5 separate regions of the Homo sapiens genome follow, and all the other regions are linked to region 3. The links are contacts of gene promoters, found by promoter capture Hi-C in blood cells and fetal thymus (Javierre and others, 2016). All regions are on one chromosome and are shown on one strand. Each heading gives the region's core, a stretch centred on a gene start or on the middle of the fragment in contact. The rest is flanking DNA. Distances are from core to core; before and after follow the strand shown. Region 1 has its middle 1.5 kb from the start of NR2C1. Region 2 has its middle 2.6 kb from the start of CFAP54. Region 3 holds the start of CCDC38 (coiled-coil domain containing 38). Region 4 overlaps CFAP54 (cilia and flagella associated protein 54). Region 5 overlaps CFAP54 (cilia and flagella associated protein 54).

Evidence for each region. Contacts are between HindIII fragments. The CHiCAGO score rates a contact against its expected background, and 5 or more counts as called.
Region 1: a contact is called between a fragment that was not itself captured here and the fragment with the promoter of CCDC38 in region 3, in 1 of 17 cell types (fetal thymus). The highest score is 5.8, in fetal thymus.
Region 2: a fragment that was not itself captured here is called in contact with the fragment with the promoter of CCDC38 in region 3 in 6 of 17 cell types (fetal thymus, activated CD4 T cells, non-activated CD4 T cells and 3 more); the score reaches 9.5 in fetal thymus.
Region 4: a contact is called between a fragment that was not itself captured here and the fragment with the promoter of CCDC38 in region 3, in 8 of 17 cell types (fetal thymus, activated CD4 T cells, naive CD8 T cells and 5 more). The highest score is 9.4, in fetal thymus.
Region 5: a fragment that was not itself captured here is called in contact with the fragment with the promoter of CCDC38 in region 3 in 8 of 17 cell types (activated CD4 T cells, fetal thymus, total CD8 T cells and 5 more); the score reaches 12.1 in activated CD4 T cells.

The regions. Positions count from the first base shown.
Region 1 is chr12:95,073,781-95,076,492 of GRCh38, forward strand. No RefSeq gene overlaps it. Among named protein-coding and RNA genes, the nearest start is that of NR2C1, 1.5 kb to the left of the region's middle. The HindIII fragment of the contact is 2,182 bases long and covers 282-2,463 here.
Region 2 is chr12:96,485,664-96,488,363 of GRCh38, forward strand. No RefSeq gene overlaps it. Among named protein-coding and RNA genes, the nearest start is that of CFAP54, 2.6 kb to the right of the region's middle. The HindIII fragment of the contact is 666 bases long and covers 1,015-1,680 here.
Region 3 is chr12:95,941,176-95,943,898 of GRCh38, forward strand. CCDC38 (coiled-coil domain containing 38) reads right to left here and starts at 1,439. Exons shown (of 16, transcript NM_182496.3): 1 at 1,256-1,439. It overlaps AMDHD1 (amidohydrolase domain containing 1), which reads left to right and starts at 2,156. Exons shown (of 9, transcript NM_152435.3): 1 at 2,156-2,360. The coding sequence starts at 2,224. The HindIII fragment of the contact is 1,867 bases long and covers 52-1,918 here.
Region 4 is chr12:96,502,971-96,505,670 of GRCh38, forward strand. CFAP54 (cilia and flagella associated protein 54) reads left to right here. Exons shown (of 68, transcript NM_001306084.2): 3 at 916-1,059. Among named protein-coding and RNA genes, the nearest start is that of CFAP54, 15 kb to the left of the region's middle. The HindIII fragment of the contact is 182 bases long and covers 1,227-1,408 here.
Region 5 is chr12:96,521,729-96,524,484 of GRCh38, forward strand. It overlaps CFAP54 (cilia and flagella associated protein 54), which reads left to right. Exons shown (of 68, transcript NM_001306084.2): 7 at 129-242; 8 at 360-461. Among named protein-coding and RNA genes, the nearest start is that of CFAP54, 34 kb to the left of the region's middle. RefSeq lists enhancers at 404-904, 905-1,405 and a silencer at 563-857. The HindIII fragment of the contact is 1,249 bases long and covers 646-1,894 here.

The DNA.
Region 1 (2,712 bases), core at 123-2,622, 870 kb before region 3:
CAAAGGTTTAAGCATCGTTTGCCAAAGGTGGGCATTAGGGGAGGTTTTGAGTCAACGTTTTAGATTTGAGTAATAAATAACCCTCTGGGTCTTAGGCATATCTGTTTCTAATTTCTGGAAAACTGGGCTCTGGGGTAGAGTCCAATCATATTTAAACTTTTTTTTTTTTGTATTACACTTTAAGTTCTAGAGTACATGTACACAACGTGCAGGTTCGTTACATATGTATACATGTGCCATGTTGGTGTGCTGCACCCATTAACTCGTCATTTACATTAGTAAGCTTTATATATAATGACAAGCTGAGGCCGACTCATGCAAATGGTAAGGCAAAGTTTCACTTATAAACTGTTGTGAGTAAAGAGACATAATGGCTAAACAGGGCAAGAATATAATCACTAGAGACTGGGCACGGTAGCTCACGCCTGTAATCCCAGCAAGTTGGGAGGCCGAGGCGGACGGATCACTTGAGCCCGGTTGTTTGAGGCCAGCCTGGCCAACATGGCGAAAACCCGTCTCTACAAAAAAATTAGCCAGTCCTGGTGGCGCGTGCCTGTCGTCCCAATTACTTGGAGGCTGAGGTGGGAGGATCACCTGAGTCAAGACGGCAGTGAGCCAAGATCACACCACCGCACTCCAGCCTGGGTGACACAATGAGTCTTTCTCTCTCTCTCTATATATACACACACACATATATATGTATATTCCACATCCTCTCTATAATATATATATTATTATATATTGAGGATTATCCTCAATGGCCGTTTTTTGTCTGTTTTGCTCAGTGATGTATTACCAAGCACATAGGACAATGCCTGCTATTCAATAATGATGTATGAAATGAAAGCCAGGCAAGTGGCTGCTGGGAGGCCAAGGAAAGATCACTTGGGGCCAGCAGTTGGAGACCGGCTTGGGCAAGATAACAAAACCCTGCCTCCACAAAAAAAATTTTTCAAATTGTGAAATGAAGAGACATTGGTGGAACATCGCATTCTGACAGTGGCCACCTGTAGTGGCAAGGTGTGGCAGGAATAACTGCCCTGTGTGCAAAGTACTCTGCGCTTTAGATTTTGAAGCATTCTTGAAATTTCTAGTTTTTTTTTAAATCTCCTTTGTTTTGTCATGAAATTTCTATTTTATCTAGCTTAGGTCGGCACTGTAGGAAAGCAGCCACAAACTCAGGGCAGAAATCCAAGGAAGGAAAAACAAACGTTTGCTGGGAATGAGAACATCTCTGTTATTTCTCTCTGGAACTAGGCAGACGGACAGAGATCAAGGCATGAAACAATCCCTAACAAGTAAAAATATGCTTTATCCCTCATTAAAAATCCACCTCTGCTGAGCACAGTGGCTTCTGCCCCCAGAGCCTTGGGAGGCTGAGGTAGGAGGCTTGCTTGATGCCAGGAGTTTGAGACCAGCCTGGGCAACATAGTGAGACTCCATCTCTTAAAAAAAAAAGAAAAAAAAAAGGCATGGTGGTGCAGGCCTGTATTCCTAGTTACTGAGGAGGCTGAGGTGGGAGGATTGCTTAAGCCCAGGAGTCTGGTCCAGTGTTGGCACCATTGCATTCCAGCCTGGGCGAGAGTGAAACTTTTTTTTTTTTCCAACCTCTACCTTTTAGCATTATTTGTTGTGTATTTGGTTTGGTTTTAAGGGAGACCCCTGCCAATACCATAAGCTGGTCCCAAAGGTGAAAATTATGAAAGTATAGTCACGTCAGGGATATGTTCTGAGAAATGAGTCCTTAGGCAATTTCATTTTACTCTCATCATAGAGCGTACTTATACAAACCTAGATGGTCTAGCCTAGACACACCTAGGCTGTATGTTGTAGTCTGTTGCTCTTAAGTCACAAACCTAGGACAAACCCGTACAGCATGTTACTGAATACTGTAGGCAGTTGTAACATAATGGTAGGTATTTGTGTATCTAAATATATATAAACATAGAAAAAGTAAACTAAGTCCTTTTAAAAAAAAAGTGCAGTAAAAATAGGGGATTATAATCTTATGCAACCATTATTGTATATGTGGTCTGTCCTTGACTGAAATATTGTTATGCAGTGCATGACTGCACTATAGGCCTAATGGATACAGGCAATCTGAGACCTCTTCACTATTCTTGGTGGAGAATATGTATGCCTATAGTGATGCTTGTGGTTACCCCTTATCACCCAATTAATTCACTTAAGTCACAATAAGTTGACTTGTTAAAACTTGGAAGTAGAAGCCATTTTAGGAACATCATTTGTAGGTGAAGAAGCGTTTCCATTAATTATGCTTCAGGAAAAGAGGTAAATGAAGTTTATTTATTTTTGAGACAGAGTCTCACTCTGTTGCCCAGGCTGGAGTGCAGTGGCTTGATCTCAGCTCACTGCAACCTCCGCCACCTGGGTTCAAGAGGTTCTTGTGCCTCAGCCTCCCGAGTAGCTGGGATTACAGGCGCACACCACAATGTCTGGCTAAGCTTTTTGTATTTTTAGTAGAGACAGGGTTTCACCATGTTGGCCAGGCTGGTCTCGAACTCCTCACCTCAAGTGATCCGCTCGCCTTGGCCTCCCCAAAGTGCTGGGATTACAGGCATGAGCCACCGTGCCCAGCCGAAGTTCATCTTTAAATGTGTGACTCTAGCCGAAGTTCATCTTTAAATCTATGATGCTGGCCAGGCTCAGTAGCTCACGCCTGTAATCCTAGCACTTGGGGAGGTTGAGGCG
Region 2 (2,700 bases), core at 98-2,597, 540 kb after region 3:
TCATCTTAGAACTCCCACAGTCTTCCTTCCCCCTTGCCCTCCCCTCCCCTGCCCCTCCCCTCCTCTCTCTTTTTTTTGAGAAAAGATCTTGCTCTGTAGCTCAGACTGGAATACAGTGGGGTGATTATAGCTCACTGCAGCCTCAAACTCCTGGCTCAAGTGATCTTTCTGCCTCAGCCTCTTGAGTAGCTGGGATTTCAGGTGCATGTGACCATGCCAGGCTAATTAAAAAAATTTTTTTTAAAAATCAGAGACAGGGTCTCACTGTGTTGCCCAGGCTGGTCTCAAACTCCTGGCCTCAAGCAATCCACCCACCTCGGCCTCCCAAAGTATTGAGATCACAGGCGTGAGTGACCACACCTGGCGGTCCCACATTTCTTAAAACCTTTCTCACAGCACATTCCACAGCATGCCTTTTCTTTTCTTTTTTCTTTTCTTTTCTTTTCCTTTCCTTTCCTTTCTTTTCTCTTTTCTTTTCTTTCTTTCTTTCTTTCTTTCTTTCTTTCTTTCTTTCTTTCTTTCTTTCTTTTCTCTCTTTCTTTCTTTTTCTTTTCCTTTTTTTTTTTTTTCTTTGAGATGGAGTCTCACTTTGTCACCCAGCCTGGGGTGCAGTGGCGCGATCTCGGCTCACTGCAACCTCGCCTCCTGGGATCAAGTGATTCTCCTGCCTCAGCCTCCTAAGTAGCAGGGATTACAGGCACATGCCACCATGTCCAGCTAATCCATAGCATGCCTTTTAATTATGATTATTTGAGTTTGTGTTATCTGCTTCCTGTAGGGAATGTATGGGTTCATCTATGCCTTGTATGGACACTAACAAAATGGTTGCATTTATCTGAATAAATGGATGAAGAAGTTTTAAAAAGTCTACATATTAGGTAGATCATATATATTGTATCTATTTGGGATAGTCCAAATGATTAACAACTAAATTGAGAATTGAAAGAGCACTAACCTTGCATATTCTTTAACAGTCAGTAGCTTTAGATAAAAAAGACTTTCGAATGGGCAAAAAGCTTCCCTGCAGCCTGCGAAGATGTTAATTATAAGAAATAGCAATTTACATTATTTATAAGGAAGCTATTTACAGTACTTAGGCTTGTCAGACACAGTAGTTGCACAGCTCCATTCTTTCATTACAGTGAGAAGAATAAAGCAAAGTGACAAGGAAAGAGAAAGATATTATAATGGCTGCATCTAATTACAAGGAAGATAACACCTCTAAAATGTTAAAAATGCCTCAAATTCAATTTATTTATTTTATTTTTATTATTTATTTATTTATTTATTTATTTATTTATTTATTTATTTTGAGATGGGGTCTAGCTCTGTCGCTAAGGCTGGAGTGAAGTGGCATGATCTCGGCTCACTGCAACCTCCACCTCCCGGGTTCAGGCGATTCTCCTGCTTCAGTCTCCTGAGTAGCTGGGATTACAGGTGTCCGACACCACGCCCAGCTAATATTTGTGTTTTCAGTAGAGACGGGATTTCAACATGTTGGCTAGGCTGGTCTCGAACTCCTGACGTCAAGTGATTCGCCCACCTGAGCCTCCTGAAGTGCTGGGATTACAGGCGTGAGCCACGACACCCAGCCAATTTAATTTAAACTAAATAAAATGTAAACTTCCATCTTATCATAATGATGATTCAGAATATAACACCCATTTAAATATTCAGACAAGCTTCCAAAAACTACTGCAAGTTAAGCATTGTTAGCTTTAGTGTGTGCAAGGGGGAAAGTGACTAAGATGCAATGTTTCATAATTCAGGTATTTGAATTTGCTTAGTCACATTTTCTTTTACCAGTGACTTTGAAATACAAGTGTCTGCCCTATGATAAAGTTTGTTTGTGACAGTAGCCAGATTAGAAGGAAAAACACCACTTTGTCTTTTATTTTTTTCTTTCCTTTTCTGTGACCACTTTAATTAATTTTATCCTGCTGTTTCACTTTCATCAATATAATAGATAGCACTCAGTGGCAAATTACACCAGTTTTTGATCTGCAATGGACAAGTCTGCCATGTTAGAGCAAGAAAAAGATGAGAAAAAAGAGAATTTACCAAGCCGACTTTTAAAAATGTCTATTAATATTTTTGTAAATGCCCAGTGATTATTTCTCTAGGACTACATTCTTTAAAGCCTTACAATTTTTGTTGTTCACTTAGAGAACAAGATAAAATCTTTGTTGATCAAAGGATGATATCTACATCCTGATTAGAGAATTGGACTCCTACAGTGAGGTGTCATTGCGTCTCACTGCTTGCCAGGAAGTTTCTCTGGCTATAATTAACTGTGCCGATGAGCAAAATTATTTTCCTTCAAAGAATATTAGGGTACAGTAGACATGACATATTAGGCCAGCCTCACAAATTAGCACAGGCCCACAGAGCCTGCATAAAATTAGGTCAGACTTGAAAGATATCAGGCTGTGGTCCAATAAGCTTCTTAGTCTGAAATGGAAAATTGGGTTCACAGGGTGTTAGGGTCACTGTCTTTATTTAAGTGTGATAGAACTGGTAACAATTTTCAGGGTTAAAGACTGATTTTTCTAAGCCACCAAATATTTCTGGTTCTTCTCTTAGATAATTTATTGTGTTGCATAATTTATAGAAAAGAAGGTTCTCCATTTTCTCAATACTCATACTTTAATAAATTTAACTCTGACTTTTGCCTATAATACACAGGCTAAGAATAAACTC
Region 3 (2,723 bases), core at 189-2,688:
ATACCTATGAAAAAGAAATATAATTTCTTTTAGACTCACCCAGAACTTGCAAGCTTTAAGTACATGGTCTGTGAAGTCAGGAGAGGAACTATACTATTGGCTGAAATCTAATCTTTAACTTAATTGGCCAGGAAGACAAATAGCAGGATTAAAACACACGAATAATAGTAATAATACCTATTACTTGTTTAGAGCTGGGCACTGGGCTAAGTGATTTATGTTTTATTTTATTTAAAACTCAGACAAGCCCATAAAGTAGAAACAGCTCTCCCTATGATGAGGATGAGAAAACGAGGCTTCGAGAAATTACTGTAAAGAAATTCCCCAAGGTCAAACAGCTTATAGGAAACAGAACTCAGACTAAGACAAGTTTATTGAACCCTATTTTTCTATAATTTTAACCCATCCTTTATACATACAATTGCATAGTTCTGCAAATATGCCTAAAATTGCAAAATGTAACTGATTAAAGTCTTCAGCAGAAATTTTATAATAGAAAATTTTAATATTTCTCTGTGAATTAGTGACTTTATGTGTTTCTATTCCCCACTATTTCTACTTCTCTTTTTAAAGACATAGAAATATATGTATGTATAAACTTTTTAAAAGCTATGCACACACACACACAAACAACCTGTTTGTGATTGTGTATATGAGCTGTGAATAATCTTCTGATGCCCCCTCCCCCCCACCCTTAGGGTCTCTTTCACTCACATTGTCTATATATTTTCCAATTTTTATCTTTCTCTTTCCTAACTGATCTCTCTTTTATAGGCCATAATATGAAGCTAAATTATATTCTTATTTATCGTGGTCATCTAAAGGAGTGTTTGCTTTCTGTTCCAGGTTTTTTTAATGAGACTAAATTAACTTTTATATTTTGTGGGTTTGCAGGCTTAGTCTGCTTTTATAGTATATTATTTGTGTCCACATCTATCACTTTTATTGTAAAGTCTTTACTGGGCAGGGAAAGCGCCTTTCCTATCTTTGTATGTTCCACAAGACTTAACACAGAGCTTGTGATAAACATGAATAAACGAAATCAAGTAATTAAGGACTCAAAAGCCTGGGCCTGGCAGTGTTTCCATAGCAATTGGTAGCAGGAAGCGACGAGGCTGAGAATCACAGACCATCTTCCATAAACTTGATTCTGTCTCCAATTTTGGTCGCAAGTTGCTTGTAGGCCCACCAGACACAGCTGAGGGGTGGGAGGGGGCATGCGGAGGGGCGGACACTGAGCTGAAACCTATTTTACCTCAGCGAGTTTGGATCCAGGAGCCTTTCCAACCTATCGTTCGGGAAGGCGTTGTGGGAAAAGTGGGCGGAGGTGCCAATCGATCCTCCAGTCTCGGCTCTATCCTCCCCCAGCCCGGTTCCCGGTCATCTCAGGGACCGTCTGGTAGCTGATCCCGGAACGCAGCTGGCCAACGGATAAGTGCGGGGCACCCGCCACCCGCGCGGACCCAGGAGCACCTCCCCTACCGCATCCCCCTCCTCCCCACCCCCAGGTTCCCTCGGCTCGCGGCCCTCCGCGTCCCGGGCTCCCGCCCCAGAACCTGTGGGCAGATGTTTCCTCCACGCAGTACCCTCCCGGGGCTCTGCCTCCAGGCTCGCGTCCCAGCACCCTAGGCAGAGGTTTCCCCCACTCTGTCCTCTCCCGGGGCTCTACCTCCAAGCTCCCGTCCCTGCCCCTGGGCACAGCTTTCCCCTACTCTGCCCTCTCCAGGAGCGCTATCTCCAGGCTCCCACCCCAACCCCCCGGGCAGAGGTTTCCCCCATGGCCCCCCTTCCGGGGCTCTACCCCAGGTTCCGGTCCCTCACTCCCGAACACTCCGGGTGCCCTCACCCAGCCAACCCTTGACGCGCTTCCACATACCACGTGATCCACACAGCTCACTTTGATCTCTCGGGGTGACCAAGCTTAAGTTTCCTTATCTGAAAAGTAGGGACACTAGTCTCCATCTCGTTTACTCGGGATGGGACAAGACGACCAAAAAAGAGAGGATTCCTCATCAGGTTTATTACTCGTTGCCATTCTTGCAATGATTACCGCCCCCGTTGCTGTGGTTGGGGGAGGCGAGCAAAGGGCAGCGGCTGCGAGCGCCCGCCCCCGCCCCACCCTCCCAGCCCCGGACAGCGCAGGCTGCGGCTTTTCGTCCTCCACTGAGTCCTGCCGGTGGCCCGAGCCCGGTGGCCTCCCGGCGACCCTCGGCGCGAGGCGACATGGCAAGCGGCCACAGCCTCCTGCTGGAGAACGCGCAGCAAGTGGTGCTGGTGTGCGCCCGCGGCGAGCGCTTCCTGGCGCGGGATGCGCTGCGCAGCCTGGCGGTGCTGGAAGGCGCCAGCCTGGTGGTGGGCAAGTAAGTGGCCGGGCGCGCAGGGTGGGGACCGCCACGGGCGGAGCTGGCCGCTCTTCCTCTCACTGTGCACTCTGGAGGGAAACAACGCCGTGAAAGCGTCCCTGCACAGAGATACACGGGCAAGCCAGCCTTTGGGGTACCTGTTGCTAACACGCTCTGCTGCTTGGGGTTGTCATTCCGTCCAAAGAGCTCAGAGAGGAACACCCCATTGGAACGCATCAGGGTCCTGCCTCTGCTGGTAAAATATCACTGTCCAACCATCAGAAGGGGTTGAGGTCCTCCCCAGTGCTTCTTAAAGGGAGGCCAGAAGACCACCTTTGTCAGGGTGGCCTGTGGTTATTTTATTCTTACGGCAGATTTCTG
Region 4 (2,700 bases), core at 68-2,567, 560 kb after region 3:
TCTCTTCTTTGGTTCCCTCTTTCTTCCTCTCTTCCTTCCTCTCTCCCTCCCTCTCCCTTCCTTTCCTTCCTCTCTCCCTCCCTTCCTTTCTCTCTCTCTCTTTCTTTCTTTCTCTTTCTTTCTTTCTCTCTCTCTCCTTCCTTCCTTCTTTCTCGCTTTCTCTCTCTCCTCTTTCTTTCTTTCCCTCCCTCCCTTTATTTTTTCCTTCCTCCTTCCCTCCCTTTCTTTCTCTTTCTTCCTTTCCTTTCCTTTTTTTTCCTTCCTTTCTTTCTCTCTCTCTCTTTCACTTCCTTTCTTCCCCCTTCCTTTCCTTTCCCCTTCTCTTCCCTTTTCTTTTCCTTTCCTTTCCCTTCCCCTTCTTTCCCTTCCTTCCTTCCTGCCTTCCTCCCTCCCTCTCTCCCTTCCCTCCTTCCTTCCTTTCCCTTCCTCCCTTCCTCTCTCCCTCCCTCCCTCCCTCCCTTCCTTCTTTCCTTCCTTCCTTTGTTTCTCTCTCGCTCGCTCGCTCTTCGTTTCTTTTCTTTTTCGAGCCTATGAGGTATCAGAGAAGCAAGACTACTCATCCACCTCTCTAGGTATGTGGGTTACCATGATCTGATGATGCTGAATTTTGGAACCTGGGTTTTGAGTATTTGTAGGTATTACCATGCACAGTGCCATAGTAAATATTCTCATCCTTGTGGTCATGATGGTCCCATCTCACATAGGCTCATTGTGAGGAGAATTAGATGAAATAATGCACATACATTGTATAGTGCAGTGTCTCTCACATACTATGTTTTTGGAAAATGGAGCCAGTAGTAATGGTATAATTGTAATAATCAACCTTGATACTATTAGGAATAATATGAATATTACCTAATAATGATAAGCTAAATGATATTTTGGAACTTTAATCAAGTACTCCTTTTGTTTCAGGAATACAAACTGGCCCTTTTACAATGCTATGGAAGATATCTTCAGCAGTTCAATACCAATTTTGATGAGAATAAAGTGGATGTAACTCAATTCAAAGCTACCTTTTTCCCAAAAGGCTTTAAAGATAAAACTGCTGGACTTACAGTAAGATGAAAGAGCAGCTGAAATAGCTACAATTTATGATTAGCTATACAATGTATCTTTTAGTTGACAGCTTCTAAATGTCTTGTTGGCTTAGCATAGCATCTAGCTGTGTGCTATAAGTTGCTTAATAAATACTTTCAGTGCTGGATAAGAAAGTGAACTTATCAAGCTTTGTAAGGATGCTTTGGAGATTAAGTCACTGCAGTCACTCATTCATGTAGCAGTTGTTATTTAATAACTAATACTTGTAGAGTGCATTTAGTTTATAAAGTGCTTTGGAAAACAAATTTGATAAAGTAATTTTATGAGTTACATACTATTATCCCTATTTTACAGAAGAGAAAAATAAAGCTTATCACATAGTATAAAAAAGCGACTCAAGATTAAACATAAATCTATTGATATAAAATATTTATACTTTATTTCTAGTATACCAGTATTTTGTTAATTACTACCATTGATTCACTGGTTGAGCAGTTTTCATGTGCTGAGTACTCTTCTAAATACATTGTATGAATTATCATCTTGCAGCCTCATTAAAGTCCTAAGAGGTGCCTCTTTTACAGGTTAGGAAATGGAAGTTTATTAGCCCACTTAAAGCAATGGGCAGGGTTGGTGTTTGAACCCTGATCAGTCTGACTCTAAATCTATGTTACTTCAAACTTGAGGACTATTCAAGGGTTTGGGACCCGTATGTGGTTAATAAGCAGAAACTCTTAAGGCATGTTTGGGAGACAATTGAACAGTTCAATTTGGCTGTACCATAGGTACGTGAATGAGAATACTGGGCGATGTAGGTTGGCACCCTGTTAGGGAAAAGGTCTCTCCTACTCCCCTTTTTGTAGCCTTGACCCCCTACCTTCTGCTTTTTGCTTTTCATATTTTGCCAGAATTTATTTTTCTTTCTTCCTCTTTCTTTCTTTTTCTTTCTTTCTTTCTTTCTTTCCCTTTCTTTCTTCTTTCTTTTTCTTTCTTTCTTTCTTTCTTTTTCTTTTCTTCTCTTTCTTTCTTTTCTTCCTTTCTTCCTTTCTTTCCTTTCTTTTCTTCTTTTTTTTTTGGAGTCTTGTTCTGTTGCCCAGGCTGGAGTGCAGTGGCATGATCTCAGTTCACTGCAACCTCTGCCTCCTAGGTTCAAGCAATTCTCCTGCCTCAGCCTCCTTAGTAGCTGGGATTACAGGCGCATACCACCATGCCCGGCTAATTTTTGTATTTTTAGTAGAGATGGGGTTTCACCATGTCGGTCAGGGTGGTCTCAAACTCCTGACCTCATGATCCACTCTCCTTGGCCTCCCAAAGTGCTGGGATTACAGGTGTGAGCCACCGTGCCTGGCCAATTAATTTCTAAAGTAGAAACCTGTCATTTTGTTCCACTACCCATTGACTTTGCCTTTTGGCTAAAGTCCAAATTCCTTGGAATACATGGAATGCTCTCTCTCTTTTTCTGAGCCTGGGTCACCCCTATAATAGCCTCACTTTTTTTTTTTTTTTTTTGAGACCGAGGCTCACTCTGTTGCCCAAGCTGGAGTGCAGTGGTGCAGTCTTGGCTCACTGCAGCCTCCGCCTCCTGGGCCCAAGTGATTCACCTGCCTCAACTTCCTGAGTAGCTGGGATTACAGGTGCGCACCATCATGCCTGGCTAAT
Region 5 (2,756 bases), core at 20-2,519, 580 kb after region 3:
GAGTCAGCATTAACCTAGAGCTTAATTCACAGATTAAATCAAATGCCTGGGAGAACAAAACATTGTCTTTATACATTTTAATCACTATATTCTGATTTATGAATTAAATTTATTTTAATCACATGTAGGCATTTGCTCGGCGTGCTTTGGCTAAAATTGATGAGTTAAGGCAACTGGAATTAATGAGTTCCTCAAAATCCCAGGAAGAATCGCGAAGATATTTTCGAGAGGCCACAATGAAGGTATAAAAATTTCATGAAATAAAAGAAATTTACCACACTCTACAGCTGATTAAATACTTAGTAGTTGGGAAGTGCATCTCATTGTTATTTCATGTATAATTCTGCTTTTTGAGGCAGATGGCAGTGATGATCTTCAAAAGAGGAGTCTTTGAATCTAGAAGAAAAAACAAAGCTGTCTTTAGACCTAAGATAAGAATTAACCTAAGGGAAGTACAAACTGTAAGTCTAAACATGTCTTCTCTCTTTAAGACTCTTTTTGCAGTATATTTGTATTATGCTCCTATGTCTTTCAAGCCTAGTCACTCATTATTAAATTCTGCCCCCAGTTCTCTGCCCTAATGGGTAAATAGAGAGAAGAATGTTTTTCTAGTTTGCACGTAGCCTCGCTTCATCTCTTTCTCAAAGCTTTTGTGTCTTAGCACAATCCCAGTTTTGCAGCCTTAAAGAACAAGAGGCTGAAGAGGAGCCTGTGAAAGATTTCAATGAACTGGCTCTTGCAAATGAATAGGCCTCTGAGTGGTTCTGCACTTGCCTTTGTCTTTGACCACTTAGGGTTAGCTGAGCAGGCGAGCAGGCTTTGAGGCTGTGGAGAAGATGGAGGCACCTTTTCTCATCAGCCTTAGGTTTCACCCTTGGGAATGTTCAGGAGCTAGGTTATCCAGTAGCAACAAACAACACCCGTACCTCAGGTGGCTTAAAACAACAATTTATTGCCTACTGGAGTCATATGTTATTTTAGTTATCAGGGGCTCTGCCTTACAAAAGCTGCTCAGGGCCAGGCTGAAGAGCCGCCTTCATTTCAAACATTGCTGGTCATTTGGCCAGAGGGGATTAAAGAGAGTTCTGGGGGACCTTTCATGGGCATTGATGCTCAACATGGAAGTGACATGAGTCTGTTCTTCTCACATGTCATAACCAGTCACACAGCCCCTCCCAACCACAAGCCTATTTGGCAAACAGTAGTAAAGATGATCACAGGGCAGGGAGTAGGCAAAGTTACACCTGTGGGGCCCTCGGCCCTTTTTCTTCCCCTTGTCTTTTTCTTCTTCTTCTTCCCTTTGCCTTCCTGACTCTTAATATCCCCCAGGGCCCAGTTCTATATCGTTTTGAAGCTCTCCCTGACTGTTCTAGATGGATATACACCCTCTTCTGCGAGCTTCCATGTAGAGATTGAAAATGAATCTGGGGGGAAGGAGGTGAGCAGTTTCTTACAGAAGAGGTGTATCAAATCTCAGAACCTGGAAAGGATTTGGGAAACCATCTGGTTCAGTCCTTTTATATTACAGTTGGGAAAATAAAGCCTGCAATATTTAAATGACTGGCTCAAGGTCACAAAGGCAGCCGCTGGCAGAACCAGAACCAGCATCTCTAAGTCCAGTGCTTGGCCTCTACTCCAATCACTGCTACTCTCTTTCCTCATTTCTTCTTAACACATTTAGGAGTAATCCTTTTTCTTTCTTTTAAATGAATTACTATATTTAAATACAAATAAGTTTTTGGACATGGTACCTTTCCATTGCTACTTAGTGACAATATTGACTACTGAGCCCACAGGTACATTTTATACATCCCTTTTGAGCTATATCCCTTACTAACCAACAGTATATTAATTGGCAAGTATATTAATTAATTTATAGGCAATTCCTTGGATAAGCTTTTAAGCTGCCTGCATCTGGTATTAAGTAGTGATGCTATAGTCTTTGTAAAAGGACAGGGAACAATTTTTTTTTTCTCCCCGGCATTTTTTTTCTCTGAGCAACCAAATTTAAATATCCAAAGTTGCAAGACTGTTGTTACTTAGAATATTATTAGGACTTAACAGTTATCCTGGTAGCAAAACTAAATACATTTTCAAAGAAAAATGTTTAAAATTCCAGATAAAATTACATTAAAAACTAATTTGTATCTGATTTCCCTTAAGATAATTGTTGAATGAAAAGTTCTGGTGATTTTTTTTTTTTAAGAAAAAATTGTAATTGTTTAGTGAGTAGTTGTTTCAGAGGCTAGTCAACACATCCTTTTTATAACGTCATCCTATGTTACCTTGGCATATTTTGCAGAATGTCCTGTTTTCTGTGTATGAAATAATTTTATTATGTTTCTACTAAATAATTTCAATATGCATTGAACATATTTTCTAAAACATTTCTGGGTTTGTATGTAAGTTGTTAACTTATAGTAAATCATTTTGACTCTCAAAAGATTCTTTTAAAGGACTACTAATTCAGACTCCTAATGATTGATTAGTTAGTGATTTATTCAATAAATATTTTTTAAGTACCTGCTATGTGAACAAAATAGATGAGGATTACATTCTAGTGGAGAATTATATCATAAATAAATAAATAATTAAAGCTTGTGATAAATATTAAGAAATAAATAATGATAATGGTGAGGATGAAATGAGTTACATGTAAAGCCCTTAGAATGTTGCTGGCAGGTAGAAAGTAGGTCCTCAGTAAATATTAGCTATCATTGTTTATTTATTTTTTATTAATTCAACAACCATATATT